Regions from separate parts of the Homo sapiens genome. Here region 2 is linked to region 1. Evidence: promoter capture Hi-C in 16 types of primary human blood cells and fetal thymus (Javierre and others, 2016). All regions are on one chromosome and are shown on one strand. Each heading gives the region's core, a stretch centred on a gene start or on the middle of the fragment in contact. The rest is flanking DNA. Distances are from core to core; before and after follow the strand shown.

Evidence for each region. The method cuts DNA at HindIII sites, captures the fragments that hold promoters and counts their contacts. A CHiCAGO score of 5 or more calls a contact.
Region 2: a contact is called between a fragment that was not itself captured here and the fragment with the promoter of XPNPEP2 in region 1, in 6 of 17 cell types (activated CD4 T cells, neutrophils, total B cells and 3 more). The highest score is 9.3, in activated CD4 T cells.

What each region holds. Positions count from the first base shown.
Region 1 is chrX:129,735,361-129,741,467 of GRCh38, reverse strand. It overlaps XPNPEP2 (X-prolyl aminopeptidase 2), which reads right to left and starts at 2,489. Exons shown (of 21, transcript NM_003399.6): 1 at 2,206-2,489. The coding sequence starts at 2,254. RefSeq lists an enhancer at 3,210-3,259. The HindIII fragment of the contact is 11,300 bases long and covers 1-6,107 here.
Region 2 is chrX:129,847,427-129,853,576 of GRCh38, reverse strand. No RefSeq gene overlaps it. Among named protein-coding and RNA genes, the nearest start is that of ZDHHC9, 6.6 kb to the right of the region's middle. RefSeq lists enhancers at 2,441-3,254, 3,255-4,070. The HindIII fragment of the contact is 5,396 bases long and covers 1,294-6,150 here.

The DNA of each region.
Region 1 (6,107 bases), core at 1,240-3,739:
ATCACTATGAGGTGGAAATTATTGTTCACTTTCTGCAGAGGAGGAAGTCAAGGCCCAGATAGATTTGGTAACTTGTCTAACTTGTGCCACCAGGAGTCAGTGGTAGAACAGGGATTTGAACCCAGGCCATCTTAATACAAAAGAGGTGAGCGCACTTTCAGTCCTCCCACTCTGCCAAGTATGAGAGGTGGGCCTGAAAAAGGTGATGCCACAGAAGGGACAGAATATATGGAGATCTAGTTTCTAGTTTGGGCTCTGCCCCCAATTTAGAGTGACTCGAGAGTGACCCCCCCCCAATATTCATTGAGCAACCATCTCCTAAGCGCCTACTGTGTGCCAGGCACTGGACTAAGTTCTCCAGGCTCTGGACCTCTGGAAAGGAGGGGCTTGAATTAGACAAAGCGGTCTCTGATAGTCCTTGCCTCTAACCCCCCTGTCTTTTAGGGAGGGATTTCCCTAGATGGTAATGGGGCCCTGAGTGTGGGGAGACATTACACTCCCCCGCCCCCCCTCCTTTTTTTTTTTTTTGAGACAGAGTCTCTCTGTCACCCAGGCTGGAGTGCAGTGGGGCGATCTCAGCTCACTGCAACCTCCGCCTCCCGGGTTCAAGCGATTCTCCTGCCTCAGCCTCCCAAGTAGCTGGGACTACAGGCATGCACCCACCACACCCAGCTAATTTTTGTATTTTTAGTAGAGATGGGGGTTTCACTATATTGGCCAGGCTGGTCTCGAACTCCTGACCTCAGGTGATCCACCCGCCCCGGCCTCCCAAAGTGTTGGGATCACAGGCGTGAGCCACTGCGCCCAACGCCCCCCGCGCCCGCATTTTTTTTTTTTTTGAGATGGAGTCTCCTTCTTTTGCCCAGGCTGGAGTGCAGTGGCACAATCTTGGCTCACTGCAATCTCTGCCTCCTGAGTTCAAGCGATTCTCCTGCCTCAGCCCCCCCTGAGGAACTGGGATTACAAGCGTGCGCCACCATGCCTGGCTAATTTTTGTAATTTTAATAGAGACAGTGTTTCACCATGTTGGCCAGGCTGGTCTCGAACTCCTGACCTCAAGTGATCCGCCTGCCATGGCCTCCCAAAGAGCTGGGATTACAGGCATGAGCCACCACGCCCAGCCACACTTTCGAGTGGGCTGAGCTACAGATGCAAGGAGGGTGGCTGGGGTTCAACACCATGAACGTCCTGTGTGATTTTATCTTGGTCTCATAAACTCAAGGATCAGATGCGACCCATACTGTTCATTTAAGAAAACAAACACCCATTTCTGTAGAAACAGATCCCTGGCAAAATGTTGGCACTGATATGCTAACATAAGAATGAGGACACAGCCAACTTATGTCTCTCTGGACACCAGAATATGCTGTTCTCTGAGGCCAGGGCTGTGGCTCCCAAGAGCAGGCTCTGCAGCTGAATGACTCTGTGGTCCCTGGCACAAGGCCTGGCACTGGGTAGGTGCTCAGGAACTGGACATTGAGTGACTGATCAGGCCCTGCTGACAGACAACAAAGAAAGGAAGGCTAGGGTGGGAGCGCTGGGCTGGGCACCTAGTTGAGGACAGAGAGGGTGCCGCAGGAATGACAAAGAGGAAAGACTCTCTTCCTGACCAAAGTTTAGTTAGGCTCCCCCAAAGCCTCTTCTCCACTTGGCCTTGACCTTGGCCTTCTGTGTCTGTCCTGCCCTTGCCAGGCTTGCATCACCCAGTCTTAGCAAGAATCTTGCTAAGTCAGTTTAGACACCCTTGATATCTGATCACTCTGGCCTGCCGTCAGCAAGAATGCTGTTCAGTCGGTTTAGCAAGAATCCCCCTACCCTTGCTATCTCCTCTTAATACTTTTCCATCCACTGACCCCCTCACTCTGCTCCTTGGCTACAGATCCCTGGAAGTCTTTTCTGTAATCAGAGTTGAGCCCCATTTCTCTCCTCTATTGCAATGCGGTAGTCTTAAATTAAGTTTTCCTTACCGTTTTAACGAGTGTCAGAATATTTTTTTTCTATAACGGGGGGAATGGAAAGGTGCCAAACCAGACTCGATCCAAGTTATGAGGGCCCCCAACACTGGCCCTGAGGTGTCTCTTCCTCAAGTCAGAGAGAGGAAGCAACAGAAAAAGAGACTCGGGCCCCAACCCTCACTCCAACCCTTTCTGAGCTCAGAGGGGAGAGGTCAGAGCTGCCTTCCAGTGGAAGCTAGGATGCACATACCACAGAGGAGGACCAGCCAGGGGCAGCAGCCCCAGTGAGCCCGGGCCATAGGGTCTCCAGATGCCGGCGCTGGGTGGATGGAGGGACAAGGGAGAGAGGGAGGGCTCTTTCCCCGGCCTCTTCCTTCAGGCCTTTCCTGGGCTCGAGCAGACAGAGGGTGGGGGCTGGCGTCAAGAAGGAGGCGTCTGGCTGCTGGGTGGAGAGTGCTTCTCTGGTCTTTTGTTTTGGAGGGCTCTGGGAGCCAGGGTGGGCAGAGGAGCTTTGGGCTGCCCGAGGCGGACTGTGCAAGTTCCTAGTCGTGTAGGATAGGGTGTGAGGCTATCCTGGGCAGAGTCCAAAGATCTCAGAGACAGAGGCACAACAGCTGGTCTCAATCAGCCTGCTTTTCCCAGCCCCCTCTCAGCGGCAGAGCCCCAGCCATTCCTTAATTCGGTCCCCTTCCCTCCAGCAAGCTGATTCCCATTAGCTCCCACACTCTGGGCTCTGGCTCCAGCACTGCTTTTGCTGTGGGGATGGAGATTTGCCTCCTGCTGCTGCTCCTTTTCCTCCCCACCTCTTCTTCCTCCTCGTTTTCCTTCTCCTCCTCCTTTTTCCTCCTTCCCCTCCTTTTCTGGGCTCCTCCACTTCCTCTTCTTCTTCCTCCTTTTCCCTCCTCATCCTCCTCCTTTTTTTTTTTTTCCTCCTTGTCCATTTCCTCCTCCTCCTCCTTTTTGCTCTTCCTCCCCCTCCTTTTTTCCTCCCTCTCTTCCTCCAAGCTGACTGGAAAAGCCAGTGTCCTCTCTTCTTGTAGTGCTTGGCAAGTCCCACTGTACCCCTTGGGAAAGTTGGTTGTGACTGGAGAGTTACTTTCTTGAGCTGGGATGAGTCCCCCCAGGAGTGCCCACTCTGAAGAAGTGATGCCAGCTCTTCCCTTGGGATCTGGGGAGTCCCATTCCCCTGCATTTTCTGAACCTGCACTCTGGGGAACCGAGGCTGTTAGAGCCACTCACACCTGGGAGGAAATGAAAGCCCAAAGATGCCCCTATCTGGAGGGTTTGGGGGATGCCACTGAATAGGGAAGAAGACACAGAAAGGGGAGTTTGGGCGCTCTGAGAAGACTAATTTGGTGAACTGGAAATGCTGTTTCTGCTGTAGCTTCTAGAACAGGGATTTGGTTACCCTGAAGTGTGAGTCACTCGTAAACAACACAACTCCCAATGAGGGAAATGGAGAAGCTGAGGCCTGCCTTGTCTTCACGCCCAGCTGAATCAGAGGGCAGCTTCAAGGCAGCTCCTAGTAAATGCTCTACAGAACCCTTGCTCTTTGGGTTCGAGGAAGGTGATTTCCCAGAGAGGAATGCTTTAGAGAGACAAACAGACCCAATGGGGATGGATGCTCACCTAGCCTGGAGGGCCCCAGAGGCAAACTGCCCATTCCTTTTGTTTCTATTTTTATTTTTGAAACAGGGTCTTATTCTGTTGCCCAGGGTGGAGTGCAGTGGCATGTTCTCGGTTCACTGCAACCTCAGCCTCCCGGGCTCAAGTGATTCTCCAGCCTCAGCCTTCTGAGTAGCTGAGACCACAGGTGCGTGTCACCATGCCTGGCCACCATTCCTTTTGTTTCTATTTTTAATGGATTTACAGTCTGCTTATGTCCACATCAAGTGTAAAGCAACTTTCAACCATCCATTCAAGAATGACAAAATAGGCCATTTTGAAGAGGGAAAACGGACCTTCATGGGAGTCTCTGAAGGGGCAGAGTCAAAATGAGTGAGGTGGCCCAGTGAACTTCATTCTCAGGAATAAAAGCAGAGGGCAGGAGCCCACAGCCTCAGAGGACAGACCAGGGACAAGGAGAACATGAGAATGCTGTCATTCAATAACTGCTGAAGCTCCCGCAGCCTTTTCCCCAGGCTCCTCTCTCCCACCCCTTCCAGGACTGGTAATGAAATTATTCCCAGAGACCAGAGCACTGGAAAATGCCCCCTCAAAGACTCCTGCCTCCTCTGTTTGCTGCAGTAGCCATCCTGAAGGGCAAGCAAGCAGGTAGAGCTGATGGGATTTTGCAGGGGAAGACCCCTGAAGATAGCCTTTGAGGACAAACATGGTCCTGTCTTTCTGTCAGTGAACTGAGCCTTGAAACACTGACTTGGGAGCCAATCAGCCTGAGTTTCAATCCCAGCTCTGGCACCCACTAGCTGTGTGATCTTGGGCAAGTGACTTTATCTCCCTGAGTCCCCAGTGTCCTCACCTGTGAGTTGGCATAATAATAGTACTAGCTTCTTAGGGTTGTTATGAGGATTCAATGGGCTAATGTTGGTGATGCTCTCAGAACATGCCTCGCAGAGACAAGAGTAAATGTTCTACAAATGTTTGTTAATTCACATACTAGAACTAAATAAAGCCAGTCTCATCTGTACTTTGTTCTTTCTCTCCCTGGCATCCAGCACTGCTGAAATAGCAGTTGTTAGAGCAAAGATCAGCTGAGCTGAAGGGCCAACCCCCGAAGCAAACAAACTAAACGGGGATTCCACCCCCATCTTCCGGACTCTGCCCAGGGATGGTCCCCACATAATACTCAGCCCTCTGGTTTCATACCTCTGGGTCCCAGCCTTAGCCCTGGTGGCAAAGATAACTTCACTTGCCTTCATCAGCTCCTTCCTTATCTCCCTATCTCGAAACCACTGTCTTTACTCTTATCAGTTGAGAGACTTCAACCCAAGTTGGCAACAGGCTTGAAGTGGAAAGAAATGATTCAACGTGGGGAGGGTTGAATGGCCGAGTCTTTGCATCAAAGTTGTTTGGAAGATGCATGCATCACTGGAGTCTCGCTCTGGCCTACTCAGGCAGTGGACTTCTGCTTGTTTTACTTTTTGGTCCAAAGCTAGCCTAAAGGCCAAATTCTGAAATCAGAGGTGATCTTCTCTAGAGTACCTCCTGTCTGTGCCTCTTATTTTGCACCCTCATGCCACCCCAGGCTTCCAACCTGAGCCTGCCCTCTCTGGGCACCAATGCCTCCTTGACTTCCATCAGAATACACCTTCCTGACTTACATGTTCTCCCACCAGGTGACAACCACTAGGTGTCCTGAATCGCAGCTGAGGTCACAATAACAACTAATGTCATGAGTGTGAATGAGAAAATGCATATAAAGTGACGAGCAAGCAAGGAACTCTAGCACCAGGGATACAAACAGCTTTGCTGTGGGAGCCCCGGGGAAGGGTAGAACCTGGAGGAAGGCCAGGAATCAGAGAGGTGGAGTGAATCTTGGCAGTAGAGGTGCAGAGATGGCATTGCAGGAGGTGGTCACAGGGAAGGACAGCAGTCTAGGGGCAGACTGGCGGCAATAATGTGAAAAGCAGCCTGAGGAAGCACAGGTGGACAGCGCCATGGACTGGAATAGCCGGTGGCAATAGGAAAGTCAGAGACCCAAGGGGGCTATGAGCACTGCAGAGCATCCCCTGGGGATGTCCCAAGTTACTGAGGATGAAATCATGAAATGATACCTGAGGTTCTGCAGTTCTGCAGGTGGGAAGGAGGCTTTTGAGCTAGCACATGCCCAATCTAACTCTTCATGTGACCTCACAGGCTGAGGGACTGGGGACTCTTGGCCTTGTGGGCACAGCATGTGATTGCTGCTTCCGAATTCCCGTTATACCCTCCCATCAGGTTCCAGCATCTCATGCTGGGAGATAGGCAGGGCTCTCAGAAGCAGAAGAGAAGACAGGCTTGGAGAAAAAAAGTGGCTTTGCCCAGGTCCAAGCTGACCTGTGGCAGAGCTGGGACTCAAACCTGGGTCTGGGGAACTTAAAAGCCCATGCTCTGTCCCTTGGACCTCACAGTCACCCCAATCTGAAGATCCTCCATGGCTCCCACTGCCCTCAGGGCAGAATTCAATCTCTTCAGCTTAGTGGCCAAGGTCTT
Region 2 (6,150 bases), core at 2,742-5,241, 110 kb before region 1:
TGAGGTCAGGAGATTGAGACCATCCTGGCCAACATGGTGAAACCCTGTCTCTACTAAAATGCAAAAAATTAGCTGGACATGCTGGTGCGCACCTGTAGTCCCAGCTACTTGAGAGGCTGAGGTAGGGGAATCACTTGAACCCAGGAGGTGGAGGTTACAGTGAGCTGAGATCATGCCACTGCACTCCAGCCTGGCTACAGAGCAAGACTCCATCTCAAAAACAAACAAACAAACAAACAAACAGCAACAACAACAACAACAAAAAGCATGATGAGATTAGAACCAAGGAATCAAGAGATCAGAGGAACTCACACTTTGGAGTACTAAGCAGGTAATCAAAGCTCCTAGACTGACATAAGTGAGAAAAGGAGGGAGAGCAGAAAGTGGGATGGGGAGCAGAGGAGAGGCAGAAGAGAGAAAGGAAGTAAGAGGCGCAGAGGGAGGAAGCTGTGCCTAGAGGAAATAAAGTTTGGAACTCATCATGAATTGAAGAATGAAAAGCCATAGTCACAAGTCTGGGAGATGGACTTCAAGAAGAGGAAGCCTGGGGTTTTACACCTTCCAGCAGGTGATGACAAATCCCAAAGCTGTACAGTAGCAGAGAGTAAGATACATGTGACACTATGCCATCTGTTTTTGTAAAAGTAAGACACTGGCACCCTTGCTTGACGAATACCATTTTAAACTGCTGATTTAAGAACATTTGTGACCAGATTACCCCCACCCCAGCAGGTCGAATTATCTACAGGCAATTTAGAAAGGTTTTGAGCCAAGTGGGTCTATGAAAAACAAAATTCAGTTAACGCTTCTGTCAAGTGAAGAGACAGAACAGATTTTGTTATTATCCCACAGCATTTTAGTAGTTTCCTAAAGCTTACTCATTCTGACCAGTCTTAGTAAGCTACTATTGTCAAAGACTGTGCAATCAAACATAGGCTGACCATAAGCAAAGCCCCAATTTTCCTGAGCTTTGGCTGCCTCTGTGATCTGGAACACATCAGGCAGCATGGAAGTTATTATTACTTATTTGGGGGAATAGGAAAGACTGCGGATCAAAAACCACCTAACCATACAAATAAGTAACCAAAAGTGATCAAACTGACTAATTTAGCCGTTCAGAATCCCTTTTGCCAAAAAGTCATAACCTTGAGGTTGATGAAGTAAAACAGGATTCTGCTACTCAGATGCTTTGAGTTTAGGAAGTGCTGGTTTTGATGGTATTTCTAGTCAGTTTTTATTCTGATCTTTTCAGGCACTTCTGCCTGAGACTACTCTGCCCAGCATGAAAAAGCTTCACAGAAACATGTAGCACATCTCATCTCAAGTGGTACCTTCCAAGATGCCACAGTCTCCTGCCCTATTCAGTTGTCTACTTCTTCCTCTTCGTTCTGTTCTTCTTCCAGCCTTTCTTCATCTTCATCATTGTTCTCATCTCTGCTCTTGTCTTGCTCTTCCGAGTCTGTTTTTTTGTCTTTGTCCTTCTTCTTTTGCTCTGAGGCCCCCTTCTTGCCTTTCTGCTCCTGCCTATATGCATCCAGAGCTTCTTTTTTTTTTCTTTTTTTCTTTTATTTATTTATTTATTTATTTATTTATTTATTTATTTATTTTTATTGATCATTCTTGGGTGTTTCTCACAGAGGGGGATTTGGCAGGGTCATAGGACAATAGTGGAGGGAGGGTCAGCAGATAAACAAGTGAACAAAGGTCTCTGGTTTTCCTATGCAGAGGACCCTGCGGCCTTCCGCAGTGTTTGTGTCCCTGGGTACTTGAGATTAGGGAGTGGTGATGACTCTTAACGAGCATGCTGCCTTCAAGCATCTGTTTAACAAAGCACATCTTGCACCACCCTTAATCCATTTAACCCTGAGTGGACACAGCACATGTTTCAGAGAGCACAGGGTTGGGGGTAAGGTCACCGATCAACAGGATCACAAGGCAGAAGAATTTTTCTTAGTACAGAACAAAATGAAAAGTCTCCCGTGTCTACCTCTTTCTACACAGACATGGCAACCATCCGATTTCTCAATCCTTTCCCCGCCTTTACCTCCTTTCTATTCCACAAAACCGCCACTGTCATCATGGCCCGTTCTCAATGAGCTGTTGGGTACACCTCCCAGACGGGGTGGTGGCTGGGCAGAGGGGCTCCTCACTTCCCAGTAGGGGCGGCCGGGCAGAGGCGCCCCTCACCTCCCAGACCGGGCGGCTGGCCGGGTGGGGGGCTGACCCCCCCACCTCCCTCCCGGGCGGGGCGGCTGGCCGGGTGGGGGGCTGACCCCCCCCACCTCCCTCCCGGACGGGGCGGCTGGCCGGGCGGGGGGCTCACACCCCCACCTCCCTCCCGGAAGGGGCGGCTGGCCGGGCGGGGGGGCTGAACCCCCCACCTCCCTCCCGGACAGGGCGGCTGGCCGGGCGGGGGGCTGACCCCCCCACCTCCCTCCCGGACGGGGCGGCTGGCCGGGCGGGGGGGCTGAACCCCCCACCTCCCTCCCGGACGGGGCGGCTGGCCGGGCGGGGGGCTGACCCCCCCATCTCCCTCCTGGACGGGGCGGCTGGCCGGGCAGAGGGGCTGCTCACTTCCCAGTAGGGGCGGCTGGGCAGAGGCGCCCCTCACCTCCCGGACGGGGCGGCTGGCCGGGCAGGGGGCTGACTCCCCCACCTCCCTCCCGGACGGGGCTGCTGGCCGGGCGGGGGGCTCACACCCCCACCTCCCTCCCGGATGGGGCGGCTGGCCGGGCGGGGGGCTGACCCCCCCACCTCCTTCCCAGACGGGGCGGCTGGCCGGGCAGAGGGGCTCCTCACTTCCCAGTAGGGGCAGCCGGGCAGAGGCGCCCCTCACCTCCCGGATGGGGCGGCTGGCCGGGCGGGGGGCTGACCCTCCCCACCTCCCTCCCGGACGGGGCGGCTGGCCTGGCGGGGGCTGACCCCCACCTCCCTCCCGGATGGGGTGGCTGCCGGGCAGAGACGCTCCTCACTTCCCAGATGGGGTGGCTGCCGGGCGGAGGGGCTCCTCACTTCTCATATGGGGCCGTTGCCAGGCGGAGGGTCTCCTCACTTCTCAGACGGGGCGGCTGGGCAGAGACGCTCCTCACCTCCCAGACAGGGTTGCGGCTGGGTAGAGGCGCTCCTCACATCCCAGACGGGGCGGCGGGGCAGAGGCGCTCCCCACATCTCAGACGATGGGCAGCCAGGCAGAGACGCTCCTCACTTCCTAGATGGGATGGCGGCCGGGGAGAGGCGCTCCTCACTTCCTGGATGGGATGGCGGCCGGGCAGAGACGCTCCTCACTTTCCAGACTGGGTAGCCAGGCAGAGGGGCTCCTCACGTCCCAGACGATGGGCGTCCAGGCAGAGACGCTCCTCACTTCCCAGACGGGGTGGCGGCCGGGCAGAGGCTGCAATCTCGGCACTTTGGGAGGCCAAGGCAGGCGGCTGGGAGGTGGAGGTTGTAGCGAGCCGAGATCATGCCACTGCACTCCAGCCTGGGCACCATTGAGCACTGAGTGAACCAGACTCCGTCTGCAATCCCAGCACCTCGGGAGGCCGAGGCTGGCGGATCACTCGCGGTTAGGAGCTGGAGACCAGCCCGGCCAACACAGCGAAACCCCGTCTCCACCAAAAAAATACGAAAACCAGTCAGGCGTGGTGGCGCGCGCCTGCAATCGCAGGCACTCGGCAGGCTGAGGCAGGAGAATCAGGCAGGGAGGCTGCAGTGCGCCGAGATGGCAGCAGTACAGTCCAGCTTTGGCTCGGCATCAGTGGGAGACGGTGGAAAGAGAGGGAGAGGGAGACCGTGGGGAGAGGGAGAGGGAGAGGAGGGAGAGGGAGAGAGAGAGGGGGGAGAGGGAGAGGGAGAGGGGGGAGAGGGAGAGGGAGAGGGGGGAGAGGGAGAGGGAGAGGGAGAGCCAGAGCTGCTTTTTTAAAAATTTTTTTTTATTTTTTATTTTTTCTGAGACGGAGTCTCACTCTGTCACCAGGCTGGAGTGCAGTGGCGCAATCTCGGCTCACTGCAACCTCCGCCTCCTAGATTCAAGTGATTCCCCTGCCTCAGCCTCCCGAGTAGCTGGGACTACAGGTGCGCACCACCACACCTGGCTAATTTTTGTATTTTTAGTAGAGACGGGGTTTCACCATGTTGGCCAGGCTGGTCTCAAACTCCCGGCCCCAAGCAATCCACGCGCCTCGGCCTCCCAAAGTGCTGGGATTACAGGCGTGAGCTAGTGTGCCCGGCCTCAAGAAAATATTTTAATGTAAAATTTCCATTGAAATATTCCCACATATAGGAAGGCAGTGGTCTGCTCTTTTCTGTATGAATGTTATATACCATTATTTTTAATAGTTGCATAGTACTGTACTATGTAGATTTCCAATAGTTAATGGCCTTTTTTGTTTGCTAATTTTTGCAATTACACATACACAATTATGCACATTCACAAACAATTGCAATGTGTGTAGTGAACATCTTTGAACATATATCTTTGAACATTTGTGCGAGTATTTCTAGATAGAAGTAGGATTGTTGGGTCAGTGGTTGTGTAATGCAAAAATGTTAAAAGATACCGCCAAATAGCCCTGCTGAAAGATTTTTACCAGTTTACTCCTCTACCAATGGTATTCGAGAAGCTACAACCCTTTGAGGCAAGATCTCCTTAAGAAGTTGGAGACTCTGCTATGCATAGTTGAGAATTTGACTCTGCACTGTTTTGTATTTATCTTTAATGACTTCATAGGTGCTAGTCTTTTTGCCCCTAGAATATTTTAAGTTCCTTGGAGGCTGGGATCATGTCATATACTTCCTTGGTATTTCCCATATTGCCTAGTACAGGCTGAGCAAACTATGGCTGTTGCTTAATACATACTTCATGATTGATTGATAAACTGGTTCTATTTTTGGGCTGCACAGTGATTGAGGTGAGCTCTTGGAATGAGAGAGCTGGGCAGAGTCAGAGACTAGGGCTGTGCCGGGTCAGTATCAGATGCTGTCACTTGCACATCAAGTTTAGACCGTAATCTGAGAATCTAAATGTATAAAGCACCTACTACAATCCCTGGCTCAGAGGAGGTCCCCAATAAATGATTTCTATTGCTGTTATGATTCTCTTTTAATGAGAGGATTGTCTTAGGGCTACTGTTGAGGGTTCAAGCATAGGACCTAAAGCCATCCCAGGCAGAGTCAGAAATCCACAGTCCAGAGATGAAGTCAAATTGGGAACCAGTGGGAGCAGCCAGGCATCTGAGGCAGAAACAGAGACCTGCGTTTGGGCAGTTCACTTGCATTGTGATGAACACTTTCCTGGCCATCCCAGGCTGTTTTTTGGGGGGCTTTCTGCATGTTTGGCTTTCATGCAAAAGTATCTTTTTTGTTTGTTTTTGAGACGGAGTCTTGCTCTGTCGCCCAGGCTGGAGTGCAGTGGCGCAATCTCAGCCCACTGCAACCTTTGTCTCCCGGGTGGAAGCGATTGTTGTGCCTCAGCCTCCCAAGTAGCTGGGATTATAGGCACCTGCCACCAAGCCCAGCCAATTTTTGTGTTTTTATTAGAGTCGGGGTTTCGCCGTGTTGGTCAGGCTGGTCTTGAACTGCTGACCTCAGGTGATCCACCCGCCTCAGCCCCCCAAAGTTCTGGGATTACAAGCGTGAGCCACCGCGCCTGGCCATGCGAGGACATCTTTAAGGTGCTGCTTAGTTCCCAAGAGAAGCCAACAATCTCAGCACAGGGCTGTGAACATAGGAGGTGCTCAGTGAAAGCAATCCCATTTACCTTTTGCCTGTTGAAACAGATAATGTGGCAGGAATGTCAATGATTTACTTGAGAAGAGGAGGCTAAGGATCAGCCATTCTACTAGAACAAGATTACTATCCAGGCTTTCCCCAGTCCCAGGTGGGGTAGGGGGCTGGGAAACCCAGTCAGATAAGGATTCAATTCAGTGATGAATTTAGAGGTTATGAAAACGTGGTGGTACATGGATGACAAGGACTCTATACAGTGAAGAATGGGTCTCATTTTTTCTACCTCTCTACCCCAGTCAGCAGGATGGCTAAGGGAGGGAGATGGGAGGGGGCAGTAATGGAGATGTCATTATAACATACAGCATTGACTGTGTCTCTCTTCCATGCCAGACAGTTAGCACACAATTCCCTTTATAACTCCATGAT